Regions from separate parts of the Homo sapiens genome. Here regions 1 and 3 are each linked to region 2. The links are contacts of gene promoters, found by promoter capture Hi-C in human tissues and cell types (Jung and others, 2019). All regions are on one chromosome and are shown on one strand. The core of a region is centred on a gene start or on the middle of the fragment in contact, and the rest is flanking DNA. Distances in the headings are between cores, read along the strand shown.

The links. Contacts are between HindIII fragments. The study calls those that stand out against the background at their distance.
Region 1: a contact is called between a fragment that was not itself captured here and the fragment with the promoter of FAM133B in region 2, in 5 of the 25 tissues and cell types used here (IMR-90 fibroblasts, aorta, hippocampus and 2 more).
Region 3: a fragment that was not itself captured here is called in contact with the fragment with the promoter of FAM133B in region 2 in 3 of the 25 tissues and cell types used here (bladder, hippocampus and lymphoblastoid cells).

What each region holds. Positions count from the first base shown.
Region 1 is chr7:92,788,064-92,791,105 of GRCh38, forward strand. The region is part of intron 2 of CDK6 (cyclin dependent kinase 6); the gene reads right to left. Among named protein-coding and RNA genes, the nearest start is that of CDK6-AS1, 47 kb to the right of the region's middle. The HindIII fragment of the contact is 9,279 bases long and covers 1-3,042 here.
Region 2 is chr7:92,588,942-92,592,317 of GRCh38, forward strand. FAM133B (family with sequence similarity 133 member B) reads right to left here and starts at 1,449. Exons shown (of 11, transcript NM_152789.4): 1 at 1,327-1,449. The coding sequence starts at 1,350. LOC105375397 (a long non-coding RNA gene) reads right to left here. Exons shown (of 3, transcript XR_927744.3): 3 at 3,079-3,207. RefSeq lists enhancers at 1,177-1,236, 1,327-1,606. The HindIII fragment of the contact is 9,030 bases long and covers 135-3,376 here.
Region 3 is chr7:92,722,274-92,725,523 of GRCh38, forward strand. The region is part of intron 4 of CDK6 (cyclin dependent kinase 6); the gene reads right to left. Among named protein-coding and RNA genes, the nearest start is that of CDK6-AS1, 110 kb to the right of the region's middle. RefSeq lists an enhancer at 1,606-2,162. The HindIII fragment of the contact is 3,912 bases long and covers 1-3,250 here.

The sequences.
Region 1 (3,042 bases), core at 501-3,000, 200 kb after region 2:
GGAGAAGCTGGAAAAACTGGTATTTCTACCAACTTCTAAACTTAAGGATCTAAAATTGGGTTGTTTTGTTCAGGTGCAAACACTTATAAAAATTAAATTATGATTTGCTATATTTCTATAAGTCCATTTTATTTTAGAGTTTGATCTTTGTTCTAGAAGTATCTCAGATAATAAGGAAAATGTTTCATGGTGTTAACGGTAATGAAAACTGTGGGAGATAATTTGTAAATGTAACTGCAAGTTTATCTATTTCAAGGCAGACGTTTTCTTTTGCAAAGAACCACAGGAACACCTCATATACTAATAATCTGTTAGTCATCTGGTTGTCCCATGTAAGTGAATATTTTAGATAATTGATTCTTACCCATCTTAATTCCCTAAACTATTTTTTAAAATTAAAGTTTTAGTGGAATTCTTGGTAACATGCATTGAACATTTTCTTGACTTTTTAAGCACAATATTATGTTTAACTGGTAGATGATTCATGGTCATTACTGTTACCATTAAATTATAATCATTTAATTCTGCACCATTATTATGATCACTTATTTGAGTGTTTACTAAGTACATGCAGATGAGACCAAAAGATCCACAATGAGGCACATTGTAATTAAACTATGAAAACCAAAGACAAAGAGAGAATCTTGAAAGCAGCAAGAGAGAAGCAACTCATCACACACAAGGGATCTGCAATAAGATGAACAACTACTTCTCATCAGAAACTATGGAGGGCAGAAGGCAGTGGGATGGCAATTTGGAAGTGCTGGAAGCAGCCAGGCATGGTGGCTCATGCATGTAATCTCAACACTTTGGGAGGCCTAGGCAAGAGGACCACTTGAATCTAGGAGTTTGAGACCTGCCTGGGTAACACAAAGAACCCCCTCATCTCTACAAAAGATTTTTTTTTTTTAAATTAACTGGTCGTGGTGGCACATGCTTGTAGTCCTAGCTACTCAGGAGGCTGAGACAGAAAGATCATTTGAGCCCAGAAGTTTGAGGCTACAGTGAACTATGACTGCACCACTGCACTCTAGCCTGGATGTAAGAGTGACACTCTGTTTCTAATAAATAAATAAAGAAGTGCTGGAAGAAAAAAGAAATCTGTTAACCAAGAATTCTATATCTGGCAGAACCATCCTTCAAAGATGAAGGCAAAATTAAGACATTCTCAGATAAACAAAAGCTGAGGGAGTTTTTTGCCAATAGATCTGCCCTACAGGAAATGCTAAAGGGAGTCCTTCAGGCTGAAATAAAAGAACATTAGACAGTAACATGGAGCCATATGAAGAAACAAAGAACACTGGCAAAGGTAACTAACTACATAGGTAAGTGGTTTGTAACTTTTAAAATATGATTTAAAAAACAAATGCATAGGACAGTAATTATAAGTCTACGTTAATGGCCACACAACGTATGAACATGTAATTTGTGACAATAACAACATGAAGGAGAAAGGACAGAACTGTACAGAAAAAAGTTTTATATACTATTAAAGCTGAAATAGTATCAACTCAAACTGGATTGTTATAAGTTGAAGATGTTAATTGTAATCTCTGGGGTAACCATTAAAAAATTCTTTGTTTTGAAACTGCTCATATCTTGAGGAACATTTTCTTGAATTTACCACTTAAGAGCCCCTACAGTGAGCCTGGGACTGTGGCAGGGATTTAATATATGGAAACTTATTGAATCCTTTCAATATCCTTATAAAGTATATACTATTACTCTCATTTTACAGATGAAGAAGCTAAGATTCATAGAATAATTTGTTCAAGCATCATAGAACAGAGACAAGAGGCAGAACCAAGATTTAAATTAGAAACCTTCACAGGCCTCTCTCCTTCTTGATCTGGACCTTCAATATCAAGATCTCCTGGACCTATTCTCTTCTTCCCCAATGTACCACCACCACTATGACAATCTAATCAGCAACAGATGACAGTTATCTCCTTTATGGTCACAGCTTCAAAGAGTACCTAGAGGTTGGTAAATCTCCAACTTCTCTCTCCAAAATAGTACTTTCTCCAAACTCCATACCCAGTTATCTCTTGGACAACTTCAACCAATACTCTGAACATCTCAATTTCAAAATGTCTAGAACACAGTTCATTCCCCTTGGTGAATCACACCCCCATCCAAATAATTTTCTAAACCCAGAAGCCTTCAAATAATCGTAGATTGTTTCATTTCCCCACATGTTCAATCAACCACCAATTCCACCACCTAAATATTTTTCCATCCACTGCCACTTCCCTGAGCTCAGGCACTCAACACCCTTGGCCAGTTTTCTACAAAGGGCCTTTATCCTGTTTCCCAAATGCCCTGAGACTCTTTGTACTCATCCCCTACTCTGGTCAGTGAGCCTTCCACAGTAAAAATCTGATCGATAGCATTGAACAAATGCATTTAACCAGCAAACGTTTATTAAATATTTGTTATTTTCTAAGCATTAGATTAGATGCTAGGTATAGAAAAATCAAAGGGTAAAATAAAATTTCTTAAGTTATTCAGAGTCTAGTGGGAAAAGTAGACAAAGTATCAACTATTCTGTAAATGCTGAGGTATGTATGTCTGCGGTATACACAGATACACATAAGTGTATACACATATACTTATTCAAATCCGCACACACACATACACATACATCTTTCTGTCTCTTATGTATATACCTATGGAATTTTAAGAAATGATAAAAGAAGCAACCCATCCATATGTGGAGGAAAACTTTGTAGAAGAAATGACAATTTAACTGTCAGAGTATCAAGAGTTACCCAAGCAAGTGGCAAAGAAAGGGCACTTGAAACCAAAGAAAGTGTGAGCAGGAGCACCGCAAGAAGCCCCATTGGAGAGAAACTTTGTATGCTACAAAGAACTTTGTTCCTCTGGAAAGTGGGCAACTATTTTTTATGGTTTTCAAAGAGCCCAATCTGATGACATGGGTAAGGGGAAGTGTGGTAAGACCACCTGTAAGGAGACTGTTGCTGCAGTAGTACAGGGAAAGTAAAGAAGGCCTGTTCTAAGGAATTGGCAGCAAGGATGGAG
Region 2 (3,376 bases), core at 199-2,698:
GAACCGTGAGCCAATTAAACACTTTTCTTTATAAATTACCCAGCCTCAGGTTTTTCTTTATAAAAGCCATGCAAGAACTGGCTACTACAGATGGCAAGTGTCATCATTTCGTAAATGTTAAGTCTCCTTTGGTGTGAGACACACACAGCTTGCAAATAATTGTTGAATAAAAAAGCGAGTTCAAGAAACGTAGCACATTCGTTTTACGTGCATTTTCCTCATTTTGCTACTCAGTGGCTAAAACTTTGTCACAGGCAAGCCCAGAAATTGTCAGGCTGCAACCTAAGCTTATTGTTATTTCATTATGTTTACTACTCATTCAATCTGATTCATAACCTGAGTTTTTCAGCCCCCTCCCCGCCCCAGCGGTCTAGAATACTTTCCTCCCATCTCCGCTTCTCAAAAGCACCTTTTCTTTTGAATGCCTTTAGAATCTCTAACAACTATCAAGGACCATTTCCTACTCTTTCTGCTGTAAGTTATTTATGCATCTCTTTTATCTCATTCACTAGAGTAATAATTTTCATGCCCAGTACTCGCTCACACATCTTGCCTTTTGTGATTTCAATTAATCTGTAAGGTTGTAGATAATAATGATCCCCTTTTATAAACGACGGCACAGAGAAGAAAAGTAACTTGTTCTAGGTCACCCAACTTCCGACGGAACAAAACTGACATTCCAGTTTTGTGTTGGACTCGAAAGCCAACTATTTTCACGCCATTCATTCCCTCACAGTGTCTATGGGGGCCAGGTCCTACAGGGCGCTGGAGACACGAAAGCAAATGCTGCCATCCCATTTTCAAACGGGAGCCTGCTTGTCGCTAAAACCAGGCGCGCTGCTGGCTCTCCGGCACAGGGACCGCGTCGAGGCCTCTGTGCCTCCCTCCCACTTGGGTGCGCAGGAGAGGGGTGCGGACCTGGGGCGGCCGATACCAAGGGGCGGGTGAGTCGGATGCGTCCAAGGGCCTAAGTCTTCGGAGTTACATGGCGGGGCCAGGTGTGGGGGGGGTTCCCCGAGCCCTCGCGGTTCTAAGTGGGCACTGGGGGCCCGCGTACAGCAGGCAAGAGTGCAAACCAGCAGCGCCAGAAAGAGCGACGAGGTGAGGGAAGAAAAAAGGGGCGGGCAAGAGAGAGCTGGGAACCCTAAAGCGCCAACTGCGTGCGCGGCGCACGCGCATCTGGGATCGGCGGAGGGTGCTGGGTCTCCAGGCCCCACGTCTGAGGGCTGCCGCTTGCCCTCCGGCCCGGCCGGGAACAGCGAGGGTTCTCGCTGTCCTGCCGCCGGGCCCTGCGTCGCCCCACTGTTTTCCCGGCTGAGTACTCACCACCCGATTGTCCCGCTTCCCCATGGTGCTGGATCGAGCGCACAGTAGCACGCCGAGGGAAACCGGGCCGGAGAGACTGCCGAAGAGGGCCTGCCGCAGGTCCTCTTGCCGCCTCCCCACTCCGCCTAGAGAGCGGCACCACGCGGACTCGACGGCCGCGCTCTGCTACAGCGCCCCCTATCTCTGTGGAGGACAGGCCGGCTCCAGAGATCGCTGCAGTTGGCGGAGCGCCTGCAGGAGTCCGGTCGTTCATTAGGCACCCAAGAGCAGGCGACGCTGCGCTTCTGCACCGGAGCCCCACCAAGGCAGCTCGCTTCAGTTTGGCCTTGGATTGTTTTGCTTTCTTCCATTCTTTTTTTTTTTTTTTTTTTTTTTTTTTTTTTTAGACAGACTCTCGCTCCGTCGCCCAGGCTGGAGTGCAGTGGCACGATCTAGGCTCACTGCAGCCTCCACCTCCCGGGTTCAAGCGATTTTCCTGCCTCAGCATCCCGAGTAGCTGAGATTACAGGCGGCCGTCAACACGCCGGGCTAAATTTTTTGTATTTTTAGTAGAGACAGGGTTTTACCACGTTGGCCAGGCTGGTCTATAACTCCTGACCTCAAGTGATCCGCCCGCCTCGACCCAAAGTGCTGGGATTACAGGCATGAGCCACTGCGCTTGGCCTTTCTTCCATTCTTGATACACTGAAATACTCATTCGAGGGGACACAAAGATTCTCCCGATGCTTATTTTGTGCTTGACAGAGTGCAAGTGCTGGGGACAAAGTGAGGACCAAAGAGCCTTGGTCCCTCACGGAGCCCATCAGCTGGTGGGGGGAAAGGCAGTGCTGTCATAGACGCTGCTAACGAAATCACCCTTTAATTTCAATCCCATTCATTCATCACCTGTGCATTCATTTCACACTAATTTTTGAACATGTAGTTTGTACAGTTTTCACTAACTGGGTGGCTGGAAGCTGGAGCTGGGTAGGGCACAAAGATGATTAAGAAAAATCCCTATCGTCAAGGAGCCTGTTTATAAACTCGTAAGGGCAATAAACACACACAGGGCCAACTTTACTGCATAGCATATCGTAATATTGGCACTACTGCACTGCAACTTTAAGGAAGATGATCTGGGCTCCAGAGAAGATAATCATATTTAGTAAGTATTTATAGATAAAGCGACCCCTCTGGGTTCATCTTAGCAAGTATCATTAGGAAGTAGTTGAAAATCAATTAGGATCTTCTCCGGACTCTTGGAAATGGCAAAATGGGAATTACACTAATTACATACAAGAACATGCTTTAAAATCATCTTTCCCGATCTCTGCCTCCCTCCCTCCCTGCATTTTTCATGCTACACTATATGACAGATGCTCCCAACTACCATCTTCTGTCTCAAAACTTTTCCAAACTCTCACATGCAGTCCTTGGTGGTTCTGCTCCCTACTAAGTGTTGATTCTTCCTCAGTAACCCACTTTCCAAAATGAGGCCTCCAGTCTCTCATTTCTCCTCCTCCTCCATTACCCCCGACTTAAGCTGGGGACTCTGACTGAAGACAGGCTTCTTTTTATACACAAGAGGAAGAGGAGAACCTATTAATATTAAGTTATTCTTTCTTTCCTGGCTTATTTTTCATGTTTTAAATATTCTAGGCATTTGACAGATATTATTTTTAATACTCCAACATGATAAGCATGATAATACCTGTGAGAGAATATAGTTTTTTTTTTCCCTCTTCAGCTCCTTCTTACCTTTCACTTCCTTGGTTGGCTGATTGTACAGAACACAGAGATTTTTAAAAATATGGTATAAGTCAACAGAAAGGTTGTGTTTCCTTTAGAAGTCTCTCTCTCTCTGCGAGTGTACACAACCCCTCCTGGATGAAACGTGAATCCCTGGGGGGACAGAGAAACAAGAAAATGACCAGGGGCCTGTGAAGATAAGGAAGATGGCAAGAGCTATCGGGAGCTCATCTGAGTGGACTACATAAAGAACAAATCAGTCCAAGACTTCTCAGGATATAATTCAGTGACAGTAGAAATCTTTACACATTCTCTGCACATG
Region 3 (3,250 bases), core at 450-2,949, 130 kb after region 2:
CTTGCTTTAATAACAAAACACAAGGGGCTAAAGAAAGTCTTCAAATAAGTAAAATTACAATAATGCTACATTCCTCTATCTCTACAGCTTTCTGTTCAGGACAGGAAGTTCAATTCATATATGTAATTTGTTCCTGAGGCAGTAGAAAGGATTATGATAAAAACAATACACAGACTGTGAACTTGGGTTTGCGTCAACTTTTCACTCCTAACTTGAGATTGAGCTACAGCATGTATTAATAGCTTTCATGATTTTGAACACAGATATGTGCTGCCAATAAATCAATCAGGACTAGGGTGCAAAATGGACTCAGCCATTTTAAGGTATATGGAGTAAGTCCTTCAGCTTAATATTACCAGGTAGCTATGAGGAATATTGACACACATCAAATGAGACCATTAAATGTATAACATAGCTCCTTCTCTATTCCTGTTATGACTCAACTGCTTATATCTGCAAGTCAGCATTTGTCAATTTATTCACTGAAAAATATTTCCTGAGTGCCTATCAAAATAAACAAGGCACTGTGTGTTAGGGCTGAATAAGATGAGCATCTGCCTTCGAGGAACTTATGGCCTGATAAATAAAATTCCCAAATAACTAAAAACAAGACAGAAAACAGTATTATAGGCTGGGCACAGTGGCTTATGCCTGTAATCCCAGCACTTTGGGAGGCTGAGGAGGACGGATTACTTGAGGTCAGGAGTTCAAAACCAGCCTGGCCAACATGGCAAAACCCTGCCTCTACTAAAAATACAAAAATTAGCCTGGGGTGGCCTGTAATCCCAGCTACTTGGGAGGCTGAGACACGAGAATCGCTTGAACTCGGAGGGCAGAGGTTGCAGTGAGCTGAGATAGGGCCACTGCCCTCCAGCCTGGGCAACAGAGTGAAACTCTGTCTCAAAAACAAAAACAAACAAAAAAACCCAAAATATTACTCTGGAAACAGAGAGGAAAAAGAAATTAATTTCTGAAGGGGATACTAGAAAGGGTACCTCTGGAGTCAGGCTTTGCAAGGTAAGTAAAATACTAGCATTTCTCATAGTTTTAAGATGTCAGTTTTGAATCAGTTAACTTGTAATTCCTTTAACATTCCACAAATTAAGTTGATTCTCAGTTCCTGTATGACATAACCCACTAAAAAATGTGTATTTCCAGGAAGAGGAGTGTAGTCTTTTTCTCTTCAAGAGACACTAAAAATACATACCAGTTCAGTCTAAAAAACTATGATTCCAAGTTTTTATGTCACCATGTGTATATAAATCGACGCATTACTATATTAAATGGGTATTTCCTTTAAATAGAAAAATACAAAAGAGTGGGGAAATTTTAAAATGCAGTACCCTGTAGGAACATACCCTTTATTATTACCATTAAATTCCAACCGTCACTCTTTCCAATAAAGTCTGATTTTTGTTTTAGAATCCTTCTCAGCTGCTAACATGTTTTACTTATGTCACTATAGGAAATATAAAGCATGCAGTATAAACTAGATACTGAAAAATTGTGTATTTATGACTGCCTTTCTCCTTTTCCTCTATGAAATAATTTGTCTACATTTTCCTGTTTGAACATATCAACTTTCAGCAAGAATGGAATGTTAATTGATGTTACGCACAAGCTCAAATTTAATAAGCAAAAAAAAAAAAAAAAAATCAAACACAAACCAACTGGGTTTCCTGTTTTTATTTATGGTTATTAGTGCCCATTTGGGGGGATTAAAATAAAAGCGTCCATCTCAGTTACAGCTTATCCTTCCTTCAATTAACGTACCCAAGGAGACAAGTTCCTTCCATCTACTCCCCTGATGACTCTCTGGATCACAAAGCCTATTCAAGCTTCTCCCCAGGGCCCCAAAACAACATGCGCAACAACTTCCTAGGGAAACTCAAAGCCTACCTCACCCTTCCCACTGGGGAAATACACAGACTCAGCCCTTTCTGGTGTGATTACATAAGAATACAAGGGCTTGCTTGACCGTGCTCAAAGCTGAGGCCTATCTTTTAAACATCAACTCGTGCCATTTCTCCTCTAAAGCAATGGTGTATGCTGGGCAAAGAGGAAATGAGTAGGATTTATCTTCTAACAATGGCAACATTTTCCAAGGAATCCTCTGCATCAAAAGTTCTGATGCCCTAGGAAAAGTCTATAATGTTTGGAAAGTAACTGGTCTTACGTGTCTAGGTGGTAGCACCCCTATTTTGACTGGGGGCAGGGGGTGGGGAACACTTTTATAAATTGGATTTTTTCCTAAGGCAAGTTATCTGTCTCAGAGAATTTCTAACTCCTCTCTTGAATTTCTACTTATCAGCTGTAGTATTACTGAAATTTAGGGAAACAATTTTTTGCTGTGCAGAATGACCAAAGATGTTGCCAATCATTACTTAACAACAGGGCCATGCTGTCCCTGATGTGAGAACCACTTTGAGGCTAAAGATGGACAATACGGATTATTTTTTTTTATTTCTTTGAATATACAAAGATATTTTCTTTTTTAAAATTCTTTTTCTTAAGACTTAATTTGCTATATATTATTTATTTAATTTACTGTACGTAAGGCATGAATTTACTGTATGCAAAACAGGTCTTTCAAAGAGAAGGGTATTAATACCTATTTCCAGGCTGCTCTTTTTGTATTTGGGGTGCAGAATTTCACAAAAATCCATCTGAGAAATAATGAACTATATGGAGAAATAGAAGCTAACCAATGTCAATAGCTATTATGGTTTTGCAGCTGAATGGCAAAAAGAAACAGGGTATCATAACTGTTATTTTTTGCCAAAACAGGGCCGTTGGGTTCGCTCTTTCTATTCAGGGTTATATGAGCCTTCACCTGGCATGGCGGTGCTCTACGTTCATGCATCATCCAAGTTCACTGTGAATTTGATTTCTTCTTTACAGCTGGCACCATAGCTTCAGATGAGTGCATTAACAAACCTGTGTAGGCACTCTGTTTCTCAAAACCATGATGCTGCAGACAGGTCAACGTTGCTCGTGCTCTTTCTTCCCTGACCTTGAGCTGTGTGTTCCCTAGGCATTGTACATACAGCTCTGAAAACAGTGGTTATGGCAGAAAGCATTTGGAAACTTGTAACTGATTCCTGTCCAGTGGCTAAGATGCAACAGGCTATTTCTGCAATGGATCCTGTCCACAACAAGCCCAGGCTGGATGTGACTGTAGCTGTAAGCAGAATGCTTTCTGCCTACCCACTGCCATATAAAAATGGGCAAAGACATTCTATCCACCAAC